2 separate regions of the Homo sapiens genome follow, and region 2 is linked to region 1. The links are contacts of gene promoters, found by promoter capture Hi-C in blood cells and fetal thymus (Javierre and others, 2016). All regions are on one chromosome and are shown on one strand. The core of a region is centred on a gene start or on the middle of the fragment in contact, and the rest is flanking DNA. Distances in the headings are between cores, read along the strand shown. Region 1 overlaps LOC105378198 (a long non-coding RNA gene). Region 2 holds the start of PCDHGA10 (protocadherin gamma subfamily A, 10).

Evidence for each region. Contacts are between HindIII fragments. The CHiCAGO score rates a contact against its expected background, and 5 or more counts as called.
Region 2: the fragment with the promoter of PCDHGA10 here is called in contact with a fragment that was not itself captured in region 1 in 1 of 17 cell types (M1 macrophages); the score reaches 6.1 in M1 macrophages.

What each region holds. Positions count from the first base shown.
Region 1 is chr5:140,738,477-140,743,691 of GRCh38, forward strand. All of the region lies in intron 3 of LOC105378198 (a long non-coding RNA gene), which reads left to right. Among named protein-coding and RNA genes, the nearest start is that of ZMAT2, 41 kb to the left of the region's middle. The HindIII fragment of the contact is 1,719 bases long and covers 1,374-3,092 here.
Region 2 is chr5:141,409,622-141,414,836 of GRCh38, forward strand. PCDHGA10 (protocadherin gamma subfamily A, 10) reads left to right here and starts at 3,366. Exons shown (of 4, transcript NM_018913.3): 1 at 3,366-5,215. The coding sequence starts at 3,555. All of the region lies in intron 1 of PCDHGA1 (protocadherin gamma subfamily A, 1), which reads left to right. The region is part of intron 1 of PCDHGA2 (protocadherin gamma subfamily A, 2); the gene reads left to right. The region is part of intron 1 of PCDHGA3 (protocadherin gamma subfamily A, 3); the gene reads left to right. It also overlaps PCDHGB1, PCDHGA4, PCDHGB2, PCDHGA5, PCDHGB3 and PCDHGA6, and 7 more genes. The HindIII fragment of the contact is 11,668 bases long and covers 2,913-5,215 here.

The DNA of each region.
Region 1 (5,215 bases), core at 983-3,482:
GAGTACAGTGGTGCGATCTCAGCTCACTGCAACCTCTGTCTCCCAGGTTCAAGTGATTCTCATGCCTCAGTTTCGTGGGATTACAGGTGCACACCACCACTCCCGGCTAATTTTTGTATCAGTAGAGACAAAGTTTCACCATGTTGCCCAGGCTGGTGAACATGTTTCTTAATCGTATTCATCCTTTTTAGAATGACAGGGTGGCTTCTCAGAGGTACCATTGGGATCACCTCCAAGTTCTGCAGAATAATTAACTTTTTTTTTTCTTTTTTGAGACAAAGTCTTACTCTGTTGCCCAGGCTGGAGTGCAGTGGTGTGATCTTGGTTCACTGAAACCTCCGCCTGGAGGGTTCAAGCAATTCTCCTGCCTCAGCCTCCCTGGTAGCTGGGCTTACAGGTGTGGGCCACCACACCTGGCTAATTTTTATATTTTTAGTAGAAATGGGTTTCACCATGTTGGCCAGGCTGGTCTGGAACGCCTGACCTCAAGTGATCCACCCACCTAGGCCTCCAAAAGTGCTGGGATTACAGGCGTGAGCCACCACCCCTGGCCCAGAACAAGCAACTTTCAGCCTGATTCTTAAGCATGGGCCTTTATGATAACATTTGTCGTTATAAAATAATTTGTGAGTTGCTCCCTCACTGCCAATTTAATATTTTTAAATTTTAAAACCTATTTTATTTTTAAAAATTTTACTTCTGACCCATGAGATGTAATTAATATTTGTTTTTATAATGAAGCGTCAGGTTTGTTTTTCTTATAAATGACCTTTCATGAATATTTACTTCCATGTTCAGAAAATTTGCTATTCTTATTACCTACTAGTTTTTCTGTAAATTTGCTGGATATTATAATGTTTATAATCATATTAACTCTAAATAAGGAGAGTTTTATACTCGTATTAACTCTAAACATACAGAGTTTTAACTCTAAATAAAAAAGTTTCATATAAGAAGGTGTATCTTCTCACTCATAAGTGGGAGCTAAGCTATGAGGCTGCAAAGGCATAAGAATGATACAGTGCACTTTGGGGACTCAGGGGTGTAGGGTGGGAAGTGGGTGAGGGATAAAAGACTACAAATTGAGTTCAATGTATACTGCTCTGGTGACGGGTACACCAATATCTCACAAATCACCACTAAAGAACTTACTCACGTAACCAAATACCACCTGTTCCCCAAAATCCTACGGAATAACCTCCTTATACTTTTCCCCTTCTTTTTCTAACCATGGAGAATGCCATATGAACACCTCAGACCTTTATATTTTTCTCTTGTTGTATACACTGGTTAGGCCCTTTGGAACAATGACGACAGGATGATTAAAGTGATGATAGCAGACATCCCTGTCTTGTTCTGGATTTCAAAGGGAAAGCTTTAATCATTTCACCATTAAGTATGATGTTTGCTTTAGCTTTTTTTTTTTCCCCTGGACACCCTTACCAAGTTACAAATATTCTCTTATATGCCTAAGGATACAACTAATATCTGCTAAAAATCTTAAGATTAATTAAGATTATTTTAAAATCATGAAAGGTTGTTGAATTTTATTAAGTAATTTTTCTGCATGTACATAGATAATCATGATTTTCCCTTTAGTTCATTAACTTTGCATATATACTAATTACTTTTATAATGTTAAGTCAACCTCATATCTTGGAGAAATTCTACTTATGCTGTATTATTCTTTTTTATGTACTACTGGATTTAATTTTCTAATAATTAGTATGGGTTTTTTTTCATTTATTTACATTAATGACATTAGACTGGGCTTTTCCTTTTTTGTGTGTATTTTTTACAATAGGATTCACTATCAGGTTATTTTAGCATTAGAAAATCATTTAGGAAGTGTTCCTTCTTATTAATTAGGATAGTTTGTATATGATTGAAATGACTTAATTTTTCTTTTCTTTCTTTTTCTTTTATTGAGACAGGCTCTTGCTCTCTCACCCAGGCTGGAATGCAGTGGTGCGATCATGGCTCACTGCAGCTTCCACCTCCTGGGCTCAAGCGATCCTCCTGCCTCAACCTCTCAAGAATCTGGGACCACAGGCACATACCACACGCCCAGCTAATTTTTTATTTTTAGTCGCGATGAGGTCTCACTGTGTTGCATGGGATGATCTCGAACTCCTGGGCTCAAGCCATCCTCCTACCTCGGCCTCCCAAAGTGTTGGGATTATAGGTGTGAGCCACTGTGCCTGGCCCTAACAATTCTTTGTTAGATGAATATTCATGTTAACATTTTTATGCCTTTGCAAAATATAATTCCCAGCAGAACATGGTCATATACCATGATTGTCTCCTTTTCTTCTTTCTACTTTTCCTGAAGTTAATGCTTGACTTTTCTTCATGTGCTTAGTTTTCCTTGGACCTCTTGTTAATTTTTTGCACATTCTTCAATAACTCTTAGTACAGTTTTCTATGTGGTATATCATTTCAGGTAATCAGAGAAAGTATTAATACAAAAGAGCTATAAGATACCAGAATGTTTAGGCCCAGATCCAGAGAGGAGTAATTGTTGTGGGTTATTACCTAGTAACCAGGTAACAATGAAGCTCTGGTAGCTTTAAAGACCCAAGGCTGGCATTTGGCAGTTTGGGAGGATTTCATGGGTCTGACTCATGTACTGGCTGTGAAAGTTGATTTGAGCTAAAATGACCCCGGTTTGGTCATCTGGGAAGCACTGAGGCTGGTCCAAGACTTGTGGCAGGTAGCCACTGAGTGGGAGGAGGGAGAGTGAGCCTAGACACAGCTGGGGGAACAGTTTTTAGGGAAAGGAAGACATGGGTTTCTCTCAGTGGTGTGCATCCTCAAATGGGGGCTTCCCAAGTTTGTGTGTCCTGGTCTGGAAGTTGTGGTGGGTAGAAGGAAACTTAAAACTCAGCATCGTTCTTGAACCATTCAGGCCTAGGCTGACCCTACTGCCCAGGGTATACCAACTCATGACACTTATCTGTCAAGGAACTCCAAATTCAATCTACTTTCTGCATTATCTCAGTGATATATTTGCATGCTTCTTCCTGTCTGTGTTTTGGGGGCAGGTTTGATGTCCATGGACCCTCTTTAGTCCTCTATGTATGTCCCCACCAAGCTTATCATTTTCTTGGAGATGGGAGAGAGCCCTTTTTCAAGGAGGGGTCTAAAACGGCATGGATTCCTGAGAAGACTAGGCTGGGTCAGGAGCTGAAGAGGTTTAAGGTTGGGACAGAAACTCTGGAGGTTAGCCTTGGTAAGAGTCTTTTGAGACCTACTCCATGAGTAAATCTGCTCTTCACCAAATTTCCAGATCCCCACAGTTCCTCTGAGCAGCTTCTCACTACTGTCATCTCTCCCAGATATGAACCAAATCCCTGGTTGCCAAGACAAGTTGACAAGGTTTGAAAAAGAAACTATTTTGAAACAGAACTTCAAGGAAAAATAAGAACCCATTCTCAGGCAAATCCTAGCAGCTTTGATTAGTAAAGAAACAGCAGTCCTTGTTTGATTCAGACAGTTTATTACTTACATAGACACAAAAGGAAATAAGCAGAATTTCCAGCTCTCCCACAGGACAGCACCAATACAAAAGGGGATGGCAACCTGAGTAATGAGACACCCTGTTGCTGAGGAGCTGAGTCCATTTGCAACTAAGAAGTTTATGGCTTGCAGTTCTGCCCTAAGAAAGATGAGGCAGAATGCCTCATACCTTATCAGAACCTGGGAAGTGATAAGAACTGCCTCATGACAGCCTCCCAAGAAGATAAAAAGATGAGTTGAAAGTGGCCTTGTGGTAGTTCCTCATAAGCCTGTTCCCCAAGGATCACAGAATGTCCGCCAAGACTTTGATTAATTATGGTTAAGCCTTGCCTGTATGGCCTATGTGAGTACATATAAGGTTGGCAGGTCAACGTGGCAGAGCCATGCCCCTACACCCATATACAGAAGAGAGCAAATGAACAGATAGTTGACCAGCCTGAAAAAGCAAAACAAGGGAAAAGAGAATAATAATTGTCATAATAAGTAAAAGGATAATATGCAAGGGATTTCCCCTCTTTTTCTGAGATAGCATCTTACTCTGTTGCCCAGATCTGAGTGCAATGACACAATCACAGCTCACTGCAGCCTCAACTTCCCAGGCCCAAACCATCCTCCCACCTCAGCCTCCCGAGTAGCTGGGACTACAGGCACATGCCACCATACCTGGCTAATTTTTAAGAAGTTTTTGTACAGAGGGCATCTCACTCTGTTGCCCAGGTTAGTCTCAAACTCCTGAGCTCAAGCAATCCTCTCGCCTTGGCCTTCCAAAATGTTGGGATTGCAGGCATGAGCTGCCCCATCTGGTTAAGAGTTTTTCTTTTGCCCAGGAATTTGAGCTATGCTGAAAACAGAAAGAAGTAATTCTAAGAGTAGCTTCCACCTGATTGCCAAGAGTTAGTGGCCAAGCCAGCTTTCTGATAACCAATCACGATATCACCCCCTTACCTTTCCCCAATCCCCAGTTTGTATAAAGACGGTACTAGGGAAAGGGATAGTTGTCAGAATCCTTGATAGTGGGTTGGGGGAAGGTTGTCACAGTGTGAGACCTTTCCTTTCATCTAGGGAGCCATGTGATGAGAAAGAATTCAGTAGGCCTCTGTGGAGAATGTGAGTGCCTGCAAGAAATGAAGAATGACATTTGGTACTTGGTTGGACAATTGGACTCATACATATATACATATATAATATATATATATATAATATTTTTTAAAGTCAGGAACCAATTATAGATCATGCATTGCTTTTAGTTGTCATGACATCTCTCCAGTCTCTTTAATCTAGACCAATCTCACCTGATATTCTTTTCCTTTTTGTGACAGCCAGTTTTAAAATAATTTTAAAAAGCTGTGGTAAAATCCATAATATAAAATTTACCATCTTAACCATTTTTAAGTGTACAGTTCAGTAATGTTAGGCACATTCACATTGTTGGGCAGTCAATCTTCAGGGCTGTCTTCTTGCAAAACTGAAACTCTATGCCCATTAAACAACAACTTCCCATTTTCCATCCTCCAGCTCCTGACAACCACCATTCTGTTTTCTGTCTCTGTGAATCTGACTACTCTAGGGACCTCATATCAGTGGAATCATATAGTATTTGTCATTTTGTAGTGTGATGGGATGATCTCCGCTCACTGCGACCTCCGCCTCCCGGGTTCAAGCGATTCTCCTGCCTCAGCCTCCCTAGTAGCTGGTA
Region 2 (5,215 bases), core at 2,116-4,615, 670 kb after region 1:
GTGAGCGCCTCTGACCCGGATTTGGGGCTCAATGGCCACATCTCCTACTCTATAGTGGCGAGTGACCTAGAGCCCCTGGCGGTGTCGTCATACGTGTCAGTGAGCGCGCAGAGCGGGGTGGTGTTCGCGCAGCGCGCCTTTGATCACGAGCAGCTGCGCGCCTTCGCGCTCACGCTGCAGGCCCGCGACCACGGCTCGCCCACGCTCAGCGCCAACGTGAGCCTGCGCGTGTTGGTGGGAGACCGCAATGACAACGCACCGCGGGTGCTGTACCCAGCTCTGGGTCCTGACGGCTCCGCGTTCTTCGATATGGTACCTCGCTCTGCAGAGCCCGGCTACCTAGTGACTAAGGTGGTAGCGGTGGACGCCGACTCGGGACACAACGCCTGGCTGTCCTACCACGTGCTGCAGGCCAGTGAGCCCGGACTCTTCAGCCTGGGGCTGCGCACTGGGGAGGTGCGCACGGCTCGAGCCTTAGGCGACAGGGACGCAGCCCGCCAGCGCCTGCTGGTCGCTGTGCGTGACGGTGGACAGCCGCCACTCTCTGCCACCGCCACGCTTCATCTGGTCTTCGCAGACAACTTGCAAGAGATACTGCCAGACCTCAGCGACCGCCCTGTACTCTCTGACCCCCAGGCTGAACTGCAGTTTTACCTGGTGGTGGCCTTGGCCTTAATCTCAGTGCTCTTCCTCCTCGCCGTGATTCTGGCCATTGCCTTGCGCCTGCGACGCTCTCTCAGCCCTGCTACTTGGGACTGCTTCCATCCTGGTCTCTGTGTCAAGTCTGGACCTGTAGTTCCCCCCAACTACAGTGAGGGGACTTTGCCTTATTCTTATAATCTGTGCATTGCACATACGGGTACAAAAGAGTTTAATTTCCTAAAATGCAGTGTGCCCCTACATTCCAATGAAGACATGGTTTGCAGTGTTTCTCCTGGAGCCTTAATTCCACCTCATGGTGGGGAGGATTTGACTTCACATCCTGAGACTCTGACTTCGGTGAGTTTCTCTTTTTTGTGTGTGATTTATCTAATAGTCTACTAGTTTCTCATATTTTAGGCATACTACTTTATTTTCATATCTAGAATCATATGTTTAAAATCCATAGCTTTTTACAATATTTTCTCAATGTTTTTTCAATTATAGTTTTCACTATGTATTTGGTTCATAAGTTGCTCTATCTTTTTGTAAAATAATGTCACCAGACTGAAGATATTTTGTCTTTGTCTTTTTTTTTTTTTTTTTTTTTTGAGATGGAGTCTCGCACTGTTGCCTAGGCTGGAGTGCAGTGGCGTGATCTCTGCTCACTGCAACCTCCGCCTTCTGGGTTCAAGCGATTCTCCTGCCTCAGCCTCCCAAGTAGCTGGGATTACTGGTGCCCCTCACCACAGCTAAATTTTTTGTATTTTTAGTAGACATGGGGTTTCACTATGTCGACCAGGCTGTTCAGAAACTCCTGTCCTCGTGATCCTCCCACCTTGGCCTCTCAAAGTGCTGGGATTACAGGCGTGAGCCACAATATTTTGTCAAGTTCTGACTATCGAACAGAAGCAGTGGTCTTGGCATCTAAGAAAACAAACAAGTAACCTATCTATTCAAATTTGCGAAGACTTAGTGAATTTACGATATCTTATTTATATATTTTTAAAGCCTAAAAATATTCAGAAGACAGGCCCAGTGGCTCACACCTATAATCACAGCACTTTGATAGGCTGAATCGGAAAGTATCACTTGAGCCCAAGAATTGAGACCAGCCTGGGCAATATAGGGAGACCCCCCATCTCTACTAAAACAACAACAACAAAAAAAAACATTAGCAGAGTGTGGTAGCATTCCCCTGTGGTCCCAGCTACTTGGGAGGCTGAGCTGGGTGGATTGCTTGGTCCTGGGAGGTCAAGGTTGCAGTGAGCCCTGATCTTGCCACTGCACTCCAGCCTGGGCGACAGAGTGCGACCCTGTCTCTAAAATAAATAAATAAATATGCAGGCAGGGCCAAGTGTGCTGTAATCCCAGCACTTTGGGAGGTGGAGGTGGAGAATCTCTTGAGCGCAGGAATTTGAGACCAGCCTGGGCAACACAGGGAGACTCCATCGCTACAGAACATTTAAAAATTAGCAGGGTGTGGTGGCACATGCCTGTGGTCTCAGCTACTCTGGTGGCTGTGGTGGGAGAATCGCTTGAGCCCAGGAAGTCTAGGCTGCAGTGAGCTGTCTAGGTGACAGAGTGAGACCCTGTCTCAAAAAAAAAAGACATTTCTAAGAAATAAATGAAATACTATTGCCTTTGCACTCAGTCTCTGTCTCTGATTCTCTGATAGAAGATTTTTGAAGAAAAAAGATAAAATCTTTGAAGAGTTCTATACTTGGAAGGCATAGTGACATAAACACTTCTGAACATCCTGTTCTCTGTGTGAAAGAAGTGAACTTCTATACCCTTTGCATTTGAGGGAACAATTGCTACTGGGTTGATGGGCACACACAGTTGAAGATATGTGAACCACTGGACTTTGGCCTCTGATACAAACTGCCTAAGAGAAGAGATTATTTATACTGGTATTAATGCTCTGATGAAAACAGGTCATTTGACATAAACACTTACTTGTTAAAAACCTATATCACTACATCTAACTTTGTTTTCTAAAACTTTTAGTACTTCAAATTCTACGTATTTCTTTTCTCATTACAATGCAAACAGTTTAATTTGCAACTGTAATATATGTTCATTTTAGTTTGTGATTACCTGCTTAATCATTTAAATAGGTCCATTTAACTTGTATCCCTGTAAGATAAAGTATGTTTTACACAAAAAGGTTAATTAAGGCTCAGTAAAACTATTCTAGAAGAGTACTTTAAAAACCTCTTACACAATCCTAAGCTAAATAAGTTTAATGAATTAAGTAGTTACAATTATAAAGCTTCAGAGTGAATTATCTCATGAGTTTATTTAATATAATCTTTGTATGAATGTATACTAAATAAAATTGGCCTATTCAAATCACAATTTTAAATTATAAGACTTTTCTGAATTTACCTAGACACTAATATGACCTAAAATAAGTATTATTTACCTTTTATTAAAGTGTGTACATTTCTGTTGGGAAAACGTGTTGCAAATATATATTTAACCAAACATTATCTTGAAATATTTACAATATTTTCACTCCACTTTATCACACCTCCCCTAAGAAACCTACATATAGTAAATTATTTAAAGATAGGAGTGGAGAAACCAAAGAATCTATGTAAAATATAATAATCCAACAGAATAGTTTACTTTCCATTGCATGTATCACTTGGGTGCAGTAACTTCTTAGGACTCTGAGCGCCGCTGTTCACCTACTAGGAGAGAAAACGCAGCCAGAGCTCAATCCGGATTCTCAGGGCTTCAACTACACAAGCCCCACAAACCGGCTGCTGGGCTGCAGGGAAGCTCACTCCAGAATTTAAAGTGCCCAGGCTACAGAGACACCCTGAAGCCACAGAAAGACAAAGGAACCGGTTGAAACACACAACGTGTCCAGTGAGGACTTTGCAGAATTCTGTAACCAGACTACAATGGCCGCTCAAAGGAATCGCTCAAAGGAATCAAAGGATTGCAGCGGGCTGGTCCTGCTCTGCCTTTTCTTCGGGATTCCATGGGAGGCTGGAGCCCGGCAGATCTCCTACTCAATTCCTGAGGAATTAGAGAAAGGCTCTTTCGTGGGCAACATCTCCAAGGACTTGGGTCTGGCGCCCCGGGAGCTGGCGGAGCGCGGAGTCCGCATAGTCTCCAGAGGTAGGACGCAGCTTTTCTCTCTGAACCCGCGCAGCGGCAGCTTGATCACCGCGGGCAGGATAGACCGGGAGGAGCTCTGCGCTCAGAGCGCGCGGTGCGTGGTGAGTTTTAATATCCTTGTGGAAGACAGGGTGAAACTTTTTGGGATAGAAATAGAAGTAACTGATATCAATGACAATGCTCCAAAATTCCAAGCAGAAAATCTAGACGTAAAAATTAATGAAAATGTCGCTGCGGGAATGCGTTTTCCTCTCCCGGAAGCTATTGATCCGGATGTGGGCGTGAACTCCCTGCAGAGCTATCAGCTCAGCCCCAATAAGCACTTCTCCCTAAGAGTTCAGAGCCGTGCCAATGGCGTCAAGTACCCGGAGCTGGTACTGGAGCACTCCCTAGATCGCGAGGAAGAGGCCATTCACCACCTGGTCCTCACCGCCTCCGACGGGGGTGACCCTCTCCGATCTGGCACTGTCCTTGTCAGTGTGACTGTCTTCGATGCAAATGACAACGCGCCGGTCTTCACCTTGCCAGAATACCGAGTGAGTGTTCCTGAGAATTTGCCTGTGGGCACTCAGCTGCTGACAGTCACAGCCACCGACAGGGACGAAGGTGCCAATGGAGAAGTGACATATTCATTCCGAAAATTACCTGACACGCAATTGTTGAAGTTCCAACTAAACAAATATACTGGAGAAATAAAAATATCAGAAAATCTAGATTATGAAGAAACCGGTTTCTATGAAATAGAAATACAAGCAGAAGATGGAGGAGCATATCTTGCAACTGCAAAAGTGTTGATTACAGTAGAAGATGTAAATGACAACAGTCCAGAGCTGACCATCACGTCTCTATTTAGTCCAGTGACTGAAGATTCACCTCTGGGAACAGTCGTAGCCCTTTTAAATGTGCATGATTTAGACTCTGAGCAGAATGGACAGGTAACCTGTTCCATTTTGGCGTATCTACCATTTAAATTAGAAAAGTCCATTGACAGTTATTACAGATTGGTGATACACAGAGCCCTTGACAGGGAACAGGTATCCTCTTACAATATCACAGTGACAGCCACAGATGGGGGAAGTCCTCCTCTATCAACGGAAGCTCACTTTATGCTACAAGTGGCAGATATCAATGACAACCCACCTACCTTCTCTCAAGTCTCCTACTTTACCTATATCCCAGAGAACAACGCCAGGGGTGCCTCCATCTTCTCAGTGACAGCGCTGGACCCGGACAGCAAAGAGAATGCCCAGATTATTTACTCCCTGGCTGAAGACACCATCCAGGGGGTACCTCTGTCCTCATACATATCCATCAACTCAGACACTGGCGTCCTGTATGCACTCAGATCCTTCGACTATGAGCAGTTTCATGAGCTACAGATGCAGGTGACAGCCAGCGACAGCGGGGATCCTCCACTCAGCAGCAACGTGTCGTTGAGCCT